Linked DNA regions of Homo sapiens: region 2 is linked to region 1. Evidence: promoter capture Hi-C in 16 types of primary human blood cells and fetal thymus (Javierre and others, 2016). All regions are on one chromosome and are shown on one strand. Each heading gives the region's core, a stretch centred on a gene start or on the middle of the fragment in contact. The rest is flanking DNA. Distances are from core to core; before and after follow the strand shown. Region 1 holds the start of DTD2 (D-aminoacyl-tRNA deacylase 2). Region 2 has its middle 17 kb from the start of LINC02313.

Region 1 (5,080 bases), core at 1,860-4,359:
TAAATGCAGCTCTGCACTCACACGTGATTTACCTGGAAAAGAAGTGAGTTTTAAAAAGTACAATCGTGCTACTGAAACAATAGGCAAGGGCCTCCAATGCATACCCACGAGAAGCTGGCAAGTTATTATAGGTATTTGCACTACTGTCACAGGCCTCTCCACTAGTATTGTTTTCATCATGAATCGAAATCTTAAGCATATTTATATTTGGACACATGCAATGTCAGAAATAAATACCTAATCATTTGCAGAACGATACCTGTTCTTTCCACTAACATTATCTCCTCATTAAGGTCTTTGCCTTTCATTTATTCCATAATAGATGTTAAGCTGTGACTTCAAGTCAAAAATCACTTTCCTTATAACTTCTTTGGTATAAAACATTTCAAATATATAGAAAAATACAGATAATTCTCACTGTAGCTTTAAAAAGTTCACTTACCAGGAACAAAAACATTAGTCTGTGACAGCAAAGTTCTAAATGAATGAAACTAAGAACAAGCAAAGAAAGTAACCTTCAAATCTTGACAATTAAAATGCTGTTTCTAAAAAAACAAGAACTTTTAATAATAGAACAGGGTAGAGAATATGTAAGAAGAAAGAATTTACATTTTCTCACCATCTAAATTACTTGTCAGCTCTTTAAACTAATTTAGTTATGTGTGTAGGAGTGAAAGGGAAAGCCTTTAAAATAGTTTTTAAGTTTATAAACACAAACTGATAGTTTGGATGCCAGCAATAAAATACATGTGATTTTGCATAAGGAGATGTAGCCTGAACAACATAAAAAAGATAAATAAGCATGGAAGGAAACTAAATGACTGATAGTTTGCAATTATAGTGTCTGGATGCAACTATAAAAATGGATAATTCGGCCGGGCACGGTGGCTCAAGCCTGCAATACCAGCACTTTGGGAGGCCGAGGTGGGCGGACCACAAGGTCAGGAGATCGAGACCATCCTGGCTAGCACGGTGAAACTCCGTCTCTAGTAAAAATACAACAAATTAGCCAGGCGTGGTGGTGGGCGCCTGTGGTCCCAGCTGCTTGGGAGGCTGAGGCAGGAGAATGGCGTGAACCCGGGAGGCGGAGGTTGCAGTGAGCCGAGATTGCGCCATTGCACTCCAGCCTGGGTGACAGAGTGAGACTCTGTCTCAAAAAAAAAAAAAAAAAAAGGATAATTATTTTATTTATTATTTATTTTTGAGATGAGGTTTCACTCTGTGGCTCAGGCTGGAGTGCAGTGGCGTGATCTTGGCTCACTACAACCTCTGCCTCCCGGATTCAAGAGATTCTCCTGCCTCAGCCTCCCGAGTAGCTGGGATTACAGGTGCCCGCCACCAAGCCCGGCTAATTTTTGTATTTTTAGTAGAGACGGGATTTCAACATGTTGGCCAGGCTGGTCTCAAACTCCTGACCTCAAGTGATCCGCCGGCCTTGGCCTCCCAAAGTGCTGGGATTACCGCGCCTGGCAGGTTAATTCTTTAGATAGGATGGCAAAATAAAATAATAAAATTTCAAATAAGGAAATCAAGACCTCACAAAAAATCATGACAAAAATAAGAAATAAGAAAAGTGAATTTCTGGGAAAGGAGAGAGATAAGAATACAGGAATTTCTATGCTTATATTTCCAAATTAGCACAGGGCAACAGATTCTGATTTTAGAATAATCACCCACACATCATATAGTTCACGGGTACTATTTACAATAAGTAGGCGGGGTGCGGTGGCTCAGGCTTGTAATCCCAGCAGTTTGGGAGGCTGAGGCAGGTGGATCACCTGAGGTCAGGAGTTCCAGACAAGCCTGGCCAAAATGGCGAAACCCCGTCTCTGCTAAAAATACAAGTTAGCGTGGTAGCTTGCGCCTGTTGTCCCAGCTACTCGGGAGGCTGAGGAAGGAAAATTGCTTGAACCCGGGAGGCGGAGGTTGCAGTGAGCCGAGATCGTGCCACTGCACTCCAGCCTGGGCGACAGATCGAGAATTCATCTCAAAAAATAAAATAAAATATAAATAAATAAAATATAAAAAATAAAATAAATGTAAAATAATAACTAAAATTGTTTTAAGTAATGCTAGATCTGGGACCGAATTCAGCAGAAAAGGCGAGCGAATGAGATTTTGCTACACTGAAGTTTCTGAGTATCTACAAAAGTCTTAATTATGAACTAATTTTTTTCTTACATTTCAACGTACTCCAAAAATACGTCAGAGGCCTTAAAGAAAATTTTATTTGTTTTTGTATGCAGTGGGGGCAGGCGGTCTTAAAAAGTAAAGTATGTATGAAAGTAGAAGGAACTCATAGTGACATAAATGTTTTAAATTCTTTGGAGAAATGTGTTTGATAAGGCAACATTGTTATAAAAGTAGAGGTCTTTGTTTCTCAGTTGGAAATTGGTCAAAACTTTTAAAAGGCTTCTTGAAATAGAATTGTTTCTTAGGAAATCTCATTTCTATGCTAAGACCAAGTCAACATAGGGGGGAATTCGACGCGATCTGAGGCGTAAGTCAAAGCAGATCATGAACTCTTGCAGCAAACCTGACCTACAAGCTTGCCCCCGACCAGCATAGACCACGAGCTGCAAGGGGTCTGAGACAGTAAGGCCTGAAGTTCACCGAACTCAGTTTCAAATACCTGTGGTCCCCCCAAGAAGGGAGACACGCTCTTCCTCTCGGGTGCTACAACTGGCGCTGGGGAACGGTGATGCTGGACCGAAAAGACAAGCGCAGCCAGGCAGGCCACCGCGGCCAGCTTCAAGCTGACCCGGTATCCCCGCGGCCGGACCGCCGGTCTCAGAGGGAGACACAGAGCGGACGAGTCACCGAGACAACGCGGAAAAAACCGCCCCGCACGCCGGAGGATAACGAGAGCTGCCGGGCTGACGTTACCTCCACCCACTGGGCCGCGACGTCCCCATCGGCTGGGCGAATTTGCAGCCGGGCGTGCAGGCACTGCTGTAGGAGCGCCCGGGCCTGAGGAATCCGGCTACCCTCAGCCATGGCTTAAGCCAGCGCCGCGGCCGGACAGTTACTAGGCCATGTGTCGCTGGCCCCTCCCTCGACGCGCTGGCGGGGCAGACGAGGCGGGGCACGACGAAGGGCCTGCGCCGATTGCCCAGTGGCCCCGCCCTTAGGAGGGCGGGGCCTCGGACTGACTCTCGAATGTCCCGGATGTGCGGTCTTGGAGGCCGGCGTAGCGCTAAGCTTCTCGGCAGCACCTGCCCAACTCTGTAGAAGGCGCTCAGTGTATACTTTTATTAAACGATTGAAAAGACTCGTTAAATCTCTTTCCTACAAACCTTTTAAGAAACATTTTTCACCTCAGAAAGCTTAGGTTCCAACTGTTGAAAAATTTTAAATCTGCTTGATTTAAATTCATGTTATGCCCATATGAAAGTAAGTAAACAAATAATCGAATCATAAAGCAAGCGGAGATGGAACTAAAAGCTATATATACATCCTTCAAAATTTTCCTTATTCCAATCAATAAAAACAATGCTGCCTCCTCTATCGGGAATGCCATAAATTATTCTGATTCCACAGTTGTGAAAAGGTATTGGTATGCTATACGAATACACATTCTTTAGAAGATATCCTTGTTAAAAATGTTCTTATCCAAGAAAGTATGATTGTTAATAACTTAGCCCGCTACTAATACAAAAATAAAACAGCTTATTCTGATGCATATGACGTAAATTCTGTGATGCATTTTCTGGAAGTACATATTAGAATGTAAATAAAACTAAACAAGGGCTTGATTTTCTTTCCCATGTAACGTATTCCTTAAACATGCATCAGATTAGCATTTATTTGTCTATGGGCTTGGATGGTTTAGATGAGGAATAATAGTGTTACCCTGATTGCATTACCCAGGTCATTGATTTGGGCTCAGTTGACACAATGTGCCTATACATTCGGATCTGTTGTTTAAAAAGATGACATCACTGACAGTGTTGCTATCCATACAAAGTAGTGTGACTGAAGAAAATAGTCCATGCATAATCAACAGTCCTTTGTACACAAAATCGAAGCTGCTTGTTTGCTGGTTATCTTGCAGCCAGGTTTACACTTTTAGTAAAAACAGAAAGCAAAATCTCACATGATCTCTGATTGTTGCATTGCAGGGATTCCAACAGTTGTTGACATTTGTCTGCAAAGCACAGACAAGTTGAATTGCTTCATGTCTGCACCTTTATGTCATTATAACTACTGAGTCTCTTTTCTCTCCGGCTCTCAGATTCAGATTTTACAGGCCTGAAAGAAACTTTGACATACAAACCATTAGCTATGTCCCAGAATAAGAAAAGACTTTGGTGTCCATTTGTATGTGGCTGCAGGAAATAGGGAGGTCTATAGAGAATAGGTTATGTGGTTCGCAGAGATCTTTCTACAGAGAGGGTTTCTTTAACAAATTGGGAAACCCTTCCTGTGAGTAGAATAGATGGAGTATGGATGGTAATGGTTAGCTTCTCAAAAATCACTAATTACTTTAAACCCTCCTATTGAGTGAGGATCTCGTGGACATTGCTGTAGGTACTGTAATAGGCTGTGGCTCACTTATTTTTTACTTCTATTTGCAGAAGGCTATAGAGAGTGGCCACCAAAGACAGCATTTCCTTTCTGTATTTTATTTTTTGAACACTTAGTTTCATTCTGCAAATAATTTAAGAAGGAAGGACATGCATGCAATAAAATAGTAAAATGTGAATTAAAGCATTAGAAATAAAGAAACTAGAATTATGTCAGTAAGCCACAATGGGGGAAATTGAAAACAGGTAAGACAGTGGTTCTCAACTGGAGTGCTGAGATGATATAGTATGCAGCAAAATTTTCACAAATGTATAACTTTAATTTTTGTTATAAAACAATTATGTTCATTGTATGTAGTATTGAGGTGCTGTAGGTTGTACAATTTGTTTCAAGTTGGAACTAAAGGCAAAGCATAGCATTAAGTTGGCTTTACAAGAAGATGGTGGTTCACTGGAATGTGAGAGAGCTTTGCCTTGTCATTGTATGAGAAATCATTGAGCAGAGATAATTCTCAAACACCTACAATGCTGAAAGTGTACCATATGGATAGGGG
Region 2 (5,080 bases), core at 1,761-4,260, 470 kb after region 1:
GTGGATATCAGTGGATTACAAAAAACAGGACAGGCATCCTAGGAACTAAAGATTTCCTAAAACATTAACAGGTGTTCAATCACATTTTAGACTTATATTCATCATTATCTATGGATGCTACAACTGTCTTTGTGACCTCTGATTCTCATTTTCTTTAATGCGTGAAGACTTACTGCATAGGACTTATTCACATCTCACCACGCAAGACTGTTGGCTTGTAGACGATGGAATTTTAGGTGTAAGAAATGAATGGGCCTAGCACGTCAAAAAGTGAGCAGTGTCATCTTGGGCCTACAACATTGCACCTCTCTTCTCAGTCATCTTGGATTATCTGAGGCATATATGTCATTGATAGAAAAATCTTTACCTCCTTTAGTTCTTCTACTCCATTAATGTCCCTGCAAGTACTCTGCTTAAAGCCTAGCTTTTTGTAGGCCTTTGTACTTGTTTGTAGAATTAAACCCAGGTGTCTTGGAGTCATGTGGATTAAACATTTGGTTATGTGCTGCTTGTGTTTTTCTCCAGATGATTTCTATACCTAAGTCTTGTCATACCCACTAGGTGGCAGTCTTCTTGACCGCAGGTCTGTGTGGTGGGAAAGCACAGATTTAGAATCAACAGCACAAAGTTCAAATCCCAGTTCTGACACTTACTAAATTAGTGTTACTTAACTAAAGTTAGCAAGTGACATAATCTAAGTCTTAGTCCCTCATCTGCAAAATGGTGGACAGTATCTGTTTTCATTAGGTTGTGCTGGTGAAGTGAAATGATATCATAACATAGAACCTGGTACTTAATAGGTGTTAAATGACAAGCTTACCTTTTCCTTTCTTTATTTTCTATCTCTGTAACATATCTTTTCATACCAGGAATGTGTAATATTGGCAACCTGACTTACCAAATAGAGTAGCTGTGGAATCCTTTTAGGAGAGAAACTGAAATATCTTTATACAATGTCCCTTCTCCCCAGGCACCTAGAACATTGGGTACACCAATAACACTTTAAAATATATATATAATGATTGGAACTATTTCTAAAGAGGAAGGTCATCTTCAGTGTATGTAGACATGAGCTGCCGGATATTCTGTCAGAACAATAGCTATTCATTGTGTTAGTTTCAAAGCTGGCTCCGACAAGCTAGTATTTCAGTGTTATTCCCACACAAACAAATCTTGAGCAAAATTTCCATGACCCAATAGATTGGTGTAAACAACTCGCTGCAAGAACTTTTTACATGTAAACCCATGTCATTCATTCAAATGTTCAGTGCTTTCAGGGAGTTTTGTAAGTGCAGCCTAAGAATTAATGATTTTTAAAAAAGCAAAAACAAAAAACAAATGCTCATCAACCCCTACCCTCAGGATTGTGTTTTGTTGCAGAGTATATGCGGTAAATAGCTCAGTTCCTCCCACCATAGCTGTAGATGGGAGACACAGCCATCAGATAACATAGTCTGATGGGAAAGTCCTTTAAAGGCACTGAAACATTAACAGGCTGGCCGAGGCGTGCAGGCTGCCAGAGGTCCTGACTCCTGGGCCAAAGAATAATGACAGGCTTTCTATTTTTAAATAATAGTTAGCATTTGATAGCACTTAATATTTGCAGTGACCTTTACAGCTATTGTTATTAGTTATTCCTCCCAGCAGCTCTTTGAAAAAAATGACACAACTGTTTTTACTCAACTCCCCCAACTCCTTCTCCTTCCACTGCACTCACAGGATCAGTGGGGTTCTCAGCACATAGTGATGACATTTGCTTAGATGTAAGCTCCATTTCCTCATGAGCAGTGATCTCAGTGATAAAGAATCTTTTCAAGTCAAAACAATATTAAATACGGTGTGTTTTCATATATCCCGTGTGAGTCAGATCATGTCACTTCTCTGCTGAAAACCCTGCAATGCTTCCCCATCTCACTCAGTGTAAAGCCACGGTCTTTACAGTGGCCTGGAAGACTTGTATAATCAACCCCTCCTTCACTGCTTGCACCGACCTCACACTCCTCACCCCCTCCCCATCTCTGCCCTAGTCACATGGGCCTCCCTGTAGCAACTCCAGCCGCACAGGCTCTTGTCTTAGGCCTTTGCCCTGGATATTTCTTCTGCCTGAAATGTTCTTCCTTCACACGTGGCTGCCTCTGACACCTTCAGCTTTTGCTTAGATGTCACCTTTTCAATGAGGTCTCCCCTGCCAACCTAATTTAAAACTGCAGCTGTGATCAAGTACTTATTGCCTCCTAATGTACTATATTATTTACTGAGTTACTGGGTTTACTGTTTATTTTCTCTCCTCCACAAGACTGTAAAATCCACAAAAGCAGAGATCTTTGTCCATTTAGTTCACTGCTATATACCAAGCACCTAGAACAATACATATAGAAGGCATGTAATAAATATTTGTTGGATGAACAAATGCTGTTTCTCTAAAGATTGTTGTAATAGGTTTGACCTGTAGACTTAGAATGCATCTCAGTATGTGGTTTATCTTTATATTCCTTAGCAGTAGTTCCTAAGCTTGTTTTCCAACCATAGCAAACAGTTCATTTTGATAGTAATTCTGTAGAGCTAAATGAAGCACACAAATTCTAAAGGTTGGAAGGAAGTGCTGCAGCAAAGAAATGGATTTTGTAGGTGTTATAGTCCAACCACCCATCTATTCTAATCCCATCAACTGCATCCCCATGGGGCATTGTATCTCTCCATCTTTACAGAAAGGGAGAAGAGGACAGAGGTAAAAGAATAGGTTCTGTGATCAGGAGGCCCTGTCATGTAATTCTTGTTCCACCCATGTCTACTGTGTGACCTTGAACAAGATACTTTAGCCTCTTTCTGCCTCAGTTTCCTCATCTGTAAAATGGTGATAGAAACAACTGCTACCTCATAGCCGGTTTTTTCCCCTAACATTTTTTTTTTAACTGTGGTAAAATACGTATAAAATGTACCATCTTACTCAATTTTAAGTGAACAGTCTAGTAATATTAAATATATTCATAATGTTCTGCAATCATTACCACCATCCATCTCCGTAACTCTTTTCATCTTGTAACATGGAAACTCTATACCTCTTAAACAATAACTCCCATTTCTACCTCCTCCCAGCCACTGGGAATCACCATTCTACTTTCTGTCTTTATGATTTTTTATACTCTAAATGCCTTATATACATGGAAAATATAGTCTTTTTGTGACTGGCTCATTTCACTTAGCATAATGTCTTCCAAGTTTATCTATTTTGTAGCATATGTCAGAATTTCCCTCCTCTTTGAGGTTGAATAGTATTCCTTTGTATGTGGTGTGTGTGTGTGTGTGTGTATATATATATATATATATATATATGCCATATTTTGTTTATCCATTTATTCATCCATGTACTATTGTGTTGCTTTCACATTCATAGGGTTTTGTGATGATGAATGAGCTAAGGGAGGTAGAATTTGGCATATAGTAAGCACCAAATAAATACTAGCTGCTATTATTATTATTAATCCTGATTTTTAGAAAGTCCTTAACATTAAGCTTATTTCAGTTTTATTAAGTTATATACAACTGATATAACCCATGATATAACCCACTTTAATGACCTGGGGAGTACAAATAATAGATATATCTTTTATTCCCCTATTAGTTGCCAGAACATCTTCCTGATAATACTAATAGGAAGCCCAGTATCTCTCTCTTAAGGCCCTATCGCCTCTCACCTCTTCTAAACATCCAAGATTGCCAAGAACACTCTGGTCTTCATTCATTCCAAAAGGGCTAAGTCCCAGTTCTAAAAGCAAGCGGAGAAAAAACTGAGCAGTCCAAGTGGTCTGCCAATATTGCTGCTTCTTCCTGTGGGGTAATATTGAAAACTGGCTCTACACAGGCCAGCAGCCACTTCCCCACTGCTGCAGGGATTCTCTCACTGACTTAGGTCTTCTTCATGGACCTAGGACTTGGACTTCAAGATTACAGCTCTTTTAGTTCATAGTGCTCAGTCATTGTTCTCAAATCACACCCACAACCAGAAGAGTTTCTAGTCTCAGCCATGGGATACATGGGACCAGCCTTCTCACACCTCTGTACCCTTAATCCTGCTGGTAACACTGGATCATCAGTCTAGACTGTCCCTTTTCTCATGGTGAGTTTCCCCTTTGGAATTTTTGATGTCCTTTTCTCCTCCAGGCTTCTTGTGGGGTCTATCCTAACCCATCAGGAAGGTTCTAATAATGTCTCCTGCTAGGAGGCTCCTTGACCTCCCTGCAATTGTTCAGCCTTTCATCAGAGACCAGCTCTGCATAACAGGGGTATTGGAGGGGCAGGCTTTGTCAGGCCACATATAACTTCTACTAGACTGTCCTCTCCAGGGCAACAGAGTGTTAAATATCTCACAGCATCATGAGTAAGAGTGGCCCCTTAATGACTCTTTGCCAAATGGGGAAGATCGGTGTCCACTTAGACAGAAAAGTAACTGTCATTACCCAGCTATTTAATTTCAGGTTGCTTCCTACCAGATACCCTGTTACACTTCTGTTCACTGGGTCTGGTTCTACTTTTTTTTCAGACATGGGGTCTTGCTGTGTTGCCCAGGCTAGAGTACAGTGGTGAGAGCATAGCTCACTGCAGCCTCTAATTCCTGGGCTCAGGTGATCCTCCTGCCTCTGCCTTCCAAGTAGCTAGGGCTTGGAAGGTGCAGGCCACAATGTTGGAAGGTGCATGCCATGATGTCTGGCTAATTTAATTTTTTTTCTTTTTAAGAGAAGAGGTCTCTCTGTGTTGCCCAGGCTGGTCTCAAACTCCTGGCCTCAAGTGATTCTCTCACCTTGACCTCCCAAATTGTTGGGATTACAGGCATGAACCAACTCACCCAGCCTGGTTCTACTTCCTGATGTCAGTAGGAACCTCTTCCCTATGACAAAACTTCACCAAATGAATCCCCAGAGGCCTCAGCTTATTTTGTTCTCCACTGGCTCCCCAGCTTACTCACTGGGTAATCTTAGTCACATTTTTAACAATCACAGTTAATGTTTATTGACCTTACTATTTGCCCAGTACTGTGCTAAGTGCTGTAATATATTAACAAATTTAGTCTTTAAACAACCCC

Evidence for each region. Contacts are between HindIII fragments. The CHiCAGO score rates a contact against its expected background, and 5 or more counts as called.
Region 2: a fragment that was not itself captured here is called in contact with the fragment with the promoter of DTD2 in region 1 in 1 of 17 cell types (naive CD4 T cells); the score reaches 5.8 in naive CD4 T cells.

The regions. Positions count from the first base shown.
Region 1 is chr14:31,454,397-31,459,476 of GRCh38, forward strand. It overlaps DTD2 (D-aminoacyl-tRNA deacylase 2), which reads right to left and starts at 3,110. Exons shown (of 3, transcript NM_080664.3): 1 at 2,887-3,110. The coding sequence starts at 2,997. RefSeq lists enhancers at 2,129-2,714, 2,715-3,300, 2,745-2,954, 3,095-3,274. The HindIII fragment of the contact is 653 bases long and covers 2,547-3,199 here.
Region 2 is chr14:31,925,685-31,930,764 of GRCh38, forward strand. No RefSeq gene overlaps it. Among named protein-coding and RNA genes, the nearest start is that of LINC02313, 17 kb to the right of the region's middle. The HindIII fragment of the contact is 1,002 bases long and covers 2,510-3,511 here.